2 separate regions of the Homo sapiens genome follow, and region 1 is linked to region 2. The links are contacts of gene promoters, found by promoter capture Hi-C in blood cells and fetal thymus (Javierre and others, 2016). All regions are on one chromosome and are shown on one strand. Each heading gives the region's core, a stretch centred on a gene start or on the middle of the fragment in contact. The rest is flanking DNA. Distances are from core to core; before and after follow the strand shown. Region 1 holds the start of CIDEC (cell death inducing DFFA like effector c). Region 2 holds the start of FANCD2 (FA complementation group D2).

Region 1 (4,064 bases), core at 1,480-3,979, 150 kb before region 2:
TGGCACATGCCTGTAATCCCAGCTCCATAGGCCGGGACACAAGAATTGCTTGAACCCTGGGAGGCGGCAGAGGTTGCAGTGAGCTGTGATGGTGCCACTGCACTCCAGCCTGGGCAACAGAGGGAGACCTCGACTTAAAAAAAAATAATAAAATAAAAATTAAAAAAAGCCTGCTAGAGCAGTGCATCTCAAACTTCGAAGGACACATAAGTCACCAGGGCTTCTGTTCAAATGCAGATTCTGACTGAGTAGACCTGGGTGAGGCCTGAGATTCCAAATGTTTCACAAGTTCCCAAGTGATGTTGATAACGCTGGTTCTCAGACCATGAGGAGTAAGTAGCAAAGTAATAAAAGACCCACCCCACATTCCCCATTTACCACCTGTCTTGGCCTCACTCTCCTCACCTGTAAAGTTGGATGAAGTGGGGGAAGCCTGAAGTCAATGTAAGGTATTTTTTTAACTGAAGCACTCAATTTAGAACCAAAGGAAAGGAAAGGACCTGGATTTTACAGTCAGGCAGTCCCAATTTAGAATCTTGGCTCCCTCATGGATTTGCTGGGTGATTGAGAGCACCCACTATGTGCCTCAGTTCTCTCACCTATTAATTTGGTATAATAACCCCCACTTCCCAAAGTTGTTGTGAGGCTTACATGAGATCAGGAGTAAAAGCACCAAGCATAGTGTCTACTCCTTTTTATGCATGGTGTGGTGGTGGTGTAAGCAGCAGCATTAATATCACCCAGGGACTTCTTGGCAGTGCAAAATCTCGGGTCCCACTCCAGACCTCCTGAATCAGAATCTGCACTTGAACAAGGTCCCCTGTGACCTGTATACCCATTAAAGTTTGAGAAGTTCTGGCTTACAGCTCATAGGTGGCTCTCTTTCCATTCTGCCCATGACTTTCCTCACCTGGAGAGGGACTTGGGGTAGAGAAGGCTAAGGGACTTCATGGCGTATTCCATCCTTGTCAGCTGGACTGCGTTGGACCTGGGAAGGAGGCAGAAACAATTCATCAGGGTGAGATGAGAGGGTTCCCATCTCTCTCATTGTTAGGCAAGGTGCAACCCAACCCCTGTTCAGCAACCTTCCTCCCTATTCTTCTATCCCAACTCACACATACCTCCCCCAGCCCTTCTCCTGTCCGGCCCCATGCATGCCAACCAAGACCAAGCTGGAGACCCCACCCCTCTCCCCACCGGGTGCTCAGGCTCAGCCTCACTCAGCAGCTGCTGCTCCTGCCCCAGTCCCACTCACTCCATGTTTCTCATCCCCTGGCTCTGGTCACACTGAGCAGATAACCCAACTCAGGGCTGAAGAAGCCTTGCCCGATTTGTTCCTGTCCATGGGGACAGAGTCCACTTTACGCTGGCAGGAGGTGAGTCACACCACCTCACACTTCTGGGGACCGTTCCCTCACCTCTAGTCCAGAGACCTCACAGGCAGGCAGCCCAGTCAAAGCCTCCTCTCTCCCATGGGTCCTTGAGCAATCCGAGCCCCTTCCTGAGGCTTCACAGTGGCCAAAAGAACATTCTGTGATGATAGAGGCATGCCTTGTACATACTCTCCAATACCATTGCTACTAGCCCCATGTGGCTATTGAGTATTTGAAACATAACTAGTGTGATTCAGGAGCTGAATTTTTTTTTTTTTTGAGTTTCGCTCTTGTCACCCAGGCTGGAGTGCAATGGGGCGATCTTGCTCACTACAACCTCCGCCTCCTGGGTTCAAGCAATTATCCTGCCTCAGCCTCCCCCGTAGCTGGGATTACAGGCACCTGCCACCACGCCCAGCTAATTTTTAGTTTAGTTTCGTTTTGTTTGGATTTTTAGTAGAGACTGGGTTTCACCATGTTGGCTAGGCTGGTCTTGAACTCCTGACCTCAGGTGATCTCCCTGTCTTGGCCTCCCAAAGTGCGGGGATTACAGGCGTGAGCCACTGCACCTGGCACAGGAGCTGTATTTTTTACTTTATTGAATTTTAACTAATTTAAATTTAAATAGCCACATTGCCATGTGGCTGTTGGCACCCATATTAGATCACAGGTCTAAGCAGATAGCCCTGGGCTCATCTGTCACCACTTTTTCTCCTAAACCTCTGTGCTCCAACTCTTGAAGGGCCCAACCCTTTGCACAGATAGTTCCCTCCACCTGTAGTGCCCTTCTCTGATCCAGGACGAAATTTTTGCAGCCTTGAAGCCTCAGTTTCATTGCTTTCCACTCTTTAAAAGGAAAGTCTTCTTAGACCACTCCCAAAATTATTACACCTTCATCCTGCTCTTCCTAGCCAAGGGTGCCTCTGGGTCTGTTTCTGCTGTAGCCCCTCAGTCCCTGGATGCCTGGCCCTGAGGTCCTCTTCCTATTCGAAGCTCCCGGCACAGGTAGGGCTTCGCAGAGCAAGGGGCACAAGGGGTGGACATAAAACAAAAGTCCCCTTGCCAGCTGGGGACAATCACTCTTTGCTTTTAACAATTTGGGGGACTTTCCAGACCAGGCCCCACAGAGGCAGAAAGCCCCTTTCCCACTTAGCACTGCAGAAGCTCTAGTCCTAGCTACGTGGGAGGCTGAGGCAGGAGGATTCTGCTTGCCTCAGCCTCACCCACTTCGTATCCCTAGCAAAACTCTGCCAAGAGCTACCTAACCTGCTCTCCAGGAGCAAAGAAAAAAAAATCCCCAAACCCAAAACAATAACAAACTCCTTACCTCCCCCTCACAGCCTCCTGGAAATACTGCCCTGTCCCGCCCAGCCCTCCCTTCATTTATTTCCAGCCCCCATGAAGCTCCTCCCCAGCCTTCAGCCCCAGCTGGGGAAAAGAGCTTGGGGTGAGAGCTGCAAGCCAGCCTGACTTCCAGAAAAGGCCTAAAAGGAGGGGAGAAGGCATGTTTCGAAAGCTTTGGCAAAATGGATGGCCCATGACATGAGATCAAGCACAGAGGGCACAGAAAGCAGGCAGATGTGGGTTGTGGTCCCAACTCCACCCCATATCAGCTTGCTTGAGCTTAGACAGATCACTTGACTTCTGTGAGCCCGTTTCTCTTCTCTGTGTAATGACGATAATGATTCTTGTTTTATAGGGTAGTGGTGAGGATTAGTGACAATAAAAGTAAAGGGGCACAGTGGCTCATGCCTATAATCCCAGTGTTTTGGGAGGCTGAGGCGGGAGGATTGCTTGAGGACAGGGGTTGGAGGACAGCCTGGGCAATAGAGTGAGACCCTGTCTCTGAAAAAAAAAAAAAAAAAGAAAAGAAAAGAAAAAAGAAAAAAGTAGCCTGGGTGCCGTGGCTCACGCCTGTAATCCCAGCACTTTGGGAGGCCGAGGCAGGTGGATCACTTGAGGTCAGGAGTTTGAGACCAGCATGGCCAACATGGTGAAGCCCCGTCTCTACTAAAAATAGAAAAATGAGCCAGGCGTGGTGGTGTGTGCCTGTAATCCCAGCTATCTGGGAGGCTGAGGCAGGAGAATCGCTTGAGCCTGGGAGGCAGAGGTTGCGGTGAGCTTAGATCACACCACTGCACTCCATTCTGGGTGACAGAGTGAGACCCTGTCTCAAAAAAAAAAAAAAAAAAAAAAAAGTCCGGGCACGGTGGCTCACACCTCTAATCCCAGAACTTTGGGAGGCCGAGGTGGGCAGATCACAAGGTCAAGAGTTCGAGACCAGCTTGGTCAATATGGCGAAAACCCCATCTCTACTAAATATACAAAAATTAGCCGTGCGTGGTGGTGGGTGCCTGAAATCCCAGCTACTCAGGAGGCTGAGGCAGGAGAATCATTTGAACCCGGGAGGCAGAGGTTGCAGTGAGCCGAGATCACGCCACTGCACTCCAGCCTGGGTGACAGAGTGAGACTCTGTCTCAAAAAAATAAAAATAAATAAAAATAAAGGCTTTGCAAACATAAACACTCAATGGATCGAAGTGATTATTAGTATTACTGATAATTTTTTATTTTTATTTTATTATTTTTAATTTTTTTGTCTTTTTCTCAATTTGATAATGTACATATTAAATCATAGCAGAGAGTAAGACAAGCTGAAATGTGGAGTGGTTAAGAGTGTAAGATCTCTGAC
Region 2 (3,820 bases), core at 838-3,337:
CTTGAAGAATATACTACTGACTTTTTGGAAAGGAGAAGACATAGATTCTTAAGAATATGGAACTCTGGTTTGAGAGGTACCGAGTTTAAAGTTTTATTCTAAGACAATGTCATTTAGGCCTGGTACAGTGGCTCACACTTATAATCCCAGCACTTTGGGAGGCTGAGATGGGAGGATCCCTTGAGCCCAGGAATTTGAGACCAACTGGGCAACATAGTGAGACCCTGTCTCTGCCAAAAATAAATAGATGTCTTTCAGTTACAAATTACAAAGCTTTATCTTTATAACAGTACAAGGACTTATTTTTAGATATTCACAAAAATAAAAATACAAAATTAAAAATTTCTTGCGGAATTTGCAAACTTCAGATAACACAGATATTGAGTGTTTAGAAAATACAGGATAATTTAAGATTGCTTATTTAGGGTCTTAAAATACCTCAGGGTCATGATATTCAACTCCATTTCTACAAAACTATTCAGCAGCGTAAATATAGGAGAGCTAGATGAATTTCTTTTGATTACACTGCCTGGAAAAGTCTTGAATTATCGTAGACTGAACAAGTGTTTTTTCGTTTGTTTTTCTGGAGACAGGGTCTTGCTTTGTCACCCAGGCTGGACCAAAAAGGTCGAGGCTGCAGTGATTGAGGCTGCAATCGCAGTGGTGCGATCATGGCTCACTTCAGCCTCGAACTCCCGGGCTCAAGTGATCCTCACACCTCAGCCTCCCGAGTAGCTGGGACTACAGGCACACACCACTGCACCTGGCTAATGTTTAAATTTTTTTGTAGAGACAGTGGTCTCATTGTGTTGCCCAGGCTGGTCTTGAACTCCAGGGCTCAAGCGATCCTCCCACCTCAGCCTCCCAAAGTATTGAGATTACAGGTGAGAGCCACCACGCCTGGCTGTGAACAAGTTTTTTGATGGCCTACCATGTGCCTTGCACTCTGCTGCATGCTATGGGGTATAGAGTAAGGCAAGGTCATGACCCTGCGCTCAGAGTTTCTGTTCAAGTGATAAAATATGCAAACGGAAAAATAATAGATACTTAATCTAGTGCAACAAGAGCGAAACTCCGTCTCAAAAATTAAATTAAGTTAAATTAAATAAATAAATAAATACTGCAATGAAGTATGTGAGGAAGTTGCCTCCACCCTAGGAAGGGAAATGATAATTACAATTCCTTACATGTCTAACAGCAGTGTTACAGATTGCAAAGCGCTTTGGTGCTTAGCATCTCAGCTAACCATTGGAACAGTAATTTGGTAGAATGCAGATTATCACACTCACTTGACTGGATGTTACAAATACTAAAAGCTATAAAGCACCAGGCACTCTTCCCAACGAAAGGGTGGGATGGGATAGTTCATAGGTAAACCCACCGAGGGTTGGCGACTAACCTAAAGGATTAACAGCACCGTTTTTGTTTTTTGTTTTTAACACTCAATACGTCCTAGATCCTGTGCTAAGGGATTTACAGACATCATCTAATTTGATTCCCACCTGTCTATGAGGGAGGTACTGTTATTATCCCCATTTCACAGAGGACAAAAGTGAAACACAGAGGTAACGGGTAAGGTCACCTTGCCAGTGGGGGCGAGACGTGAACCTAGGCAAACTGACACAACGCCTGCACTTTCTTGTCCAAGGTCACGGCGGTGTGAGGTAGGCTGGGGAAGGGAGGGCGCTGACCTGTCAGATACTTGTTCCTGGGTGAGCTTCTTGTCGCTCTCCAGCAGGATGGACACGTAGTGGCGGATCATGTCTACGAAGAGTGATAACGATGGGTAGGACCACCCAGAGGCAGATGTTGGAGTCAAGCAACAGTTCTGGCCCTGCCATCTTCACTGAAAGCTGGCTCCCAGCCGGTGATGGGCGAGCTTCTCTTCACCGGGGCGCAGTTGCTTCTCTCTGACGTCGCCTCTGGGCCTTCTCTCGCCCCTATGCCCGGCTAGCACAGAACTCTGCTGCAGCGGTGAGCCCAGCTTATTGCCTTCAGCTGGGCTGCCCGGCCTTCCACTTCCGGCGCGGAAGTTGGCGTCACGTCATGGCGCGCCTCGGTGGCGTCAGAGCGGCGTCGGGCCTGGCGGGAAAGTCGAAAACTACGGGCGGCGACGGCTTCTCGGTGAGTAAGTGGAGCAATGGTCGTAGTCTCTCGAGGCCCCGCTCCCCTGCGGCCTAATCTCTAAGTCCGGGCCGCGGTCGGCGTTCTCCTCTGGGGCTCCGCGCCCCGAACCTTGGCTTCCTCATCTGCCCTGAGATGGGATAATCCCCACAGGTACCTTTCTGCGTCATTAAAATGCGGAAACGAGAAAGGCTTTTACCCTCACCCGCTTCCCGATGAACTAATCCAGGCAGTCGGCCTCATCTCACTTCTGTTGGGCTTTTCTGGAAGCCAGATGGTATCGCACGTGTTAAAGGCGGGTGCCTGGAAGCCGGACGTGCTGACAAGACTTAGTTTTTCCATCTGCAAGATGGCTGATAATGGTTATCCGTATTAACCGAAGCGGCGATAAATAAAAAGTTTAGCACAGGGCCCGGTACCTCGTAAATGTTAACCATTATTAGAAGTCATTATAATCATCAAGAGTAAGTATAGGTGGTGAAGAGCGCAGGTGCTGAAGCCAGACTCCGAGTTAGAATCCCAGTTCTGCCCGTGATGATGAGAATAATGGTACCCACCTCAAAAAGTTTTGTGGGAAATAAATGAATTATTAAATATAAAGCACTTGAAACAGTTCTTGTTAGCTTTTAGCATTTCCCCTGCACTGCGAGCTTTTTTCACTCTGAATATTCTCAGAAATTTTCCTTATGCCGGTAACTATGCTGGGCATTAGGGACATTGAGTAAGTGAGACTGGGTTCCTGCTCTCAAAGAGCCCCAGTCTAGTGTGAGGTAAGGGCCCCTAGGTATACCCTGTGGAGCAGGGAAGCTGCAGTAGCAAACTCCCTTAGGGATAGGAGGAACACTTTTCAAGGAAGATGACATTCGATTGAATGTTTAGATCTGAGTAGGAATTTCCAGGCAAATAAGAGCACTTCAGATGAAAAGAACACCTTTGTGCAAAGGCACTGAGACCACGAAGGTTCTGATTTACAAGATTAAAAGGTCATGTGATTCAGGCACTTCCCCCACCTCTGCTGTCTGATTTCTAACTCCACATCTCCTTGTTTCAGTATGAGTATCTATTTGCCTGGACTCCTCTTCTCCTACCCCTTCTACTGGCTAACTGCTGTTTCAGCCCTCAAGTCCCTGCCTAAAAATCACTTCTTCAGGCCGGGCGCGGTTGGCTCACGCCTGTAATCCCAGCACTTTGGGAGTCCGAGGCGGGCGGATTATGAGGTTATGAGATCAAGACTATCCTGGGTAACACGGTGAAACCCCGTCTCTACTAAAAATACAAAAAATTAGCCGGGCGTGGTGGCGGGCGCCTGTAGTCCCAGCTACTTGGGAAGCTGAGGCAGGAGAATGGTGTGAACCCGGGAGGTGGAGCTTGCAGTGAGCCGAGGCTGCACCACTGCACTCCAGCCTGGGTGACAGAGTGAGACTCCGTCTCAAAAAAAAAAAAAAAAAAAATCACTTCTTTAGGCCGGGCGGCTCACACCTGTAATCCCAGCACTTTGGGAGGCCGAGGTGGGTGGATCACTTGAGGTCAGGAGTTTGAGACCAGCCTAGCCGACATGGTGAAACCCTGTCTCTACTAAAAAAAAAAAAAAAAAAATTCAAGGAGATTGTCCCTAAGAAATGGTCCTTGCTTCTCTTTACCACCCTTACTAGCAACTAGACTAAATTTCCTAGTAAGCCCTCATAGAACCTGTACT

Evidence for each region. The method cuts DNA at HindIII sites, captures the fragments that hold promoters and counts their contacts. A CHiCAGO score of 5 or more calls a contact.
Region 1: the fragment with the promoter of CIDEC here is called in contact with the fragment with the promoter of FANCD2 in region 2 in 1 of 17 cell types (megakaryocytes); the score reaches 5.2 in megakaryocytes.

Annotation. Positions count from the first base shown.
Region 1 is chr3:9,877,524-9,881,587 of GRCh38, forward strand. CIDEC (cell death inducing DFFA like effector c) reads right to left here and starts at 2,730. Exons shown (of 7, transcript NM_001321142.2): 1 at 2,701-2,730; 2 at 1,419-1,531; 3 at 911-988. The coding sequence starts at 963. The HindIII fragment of the contact is 5,760 bases long and covers 1-2,887 here.
Region 2 is chr3:10,024,350-10,028,169 of GRCh38, forward strand. It overlaps FANCD2 (FA complementation group D2), which reads left to right and starts at 2,088. Exons shown (of 44, transcript NM_001018115.3): 1 at 2,088-2,124. It also overlaps the pseudogene CIDECP1. RefSeq lists enhancers at 279-915, 1,551-2,186, 2,187-2,821. The HindIII fragment of the contact is 7,543 bases long and covers 272-3,820 here.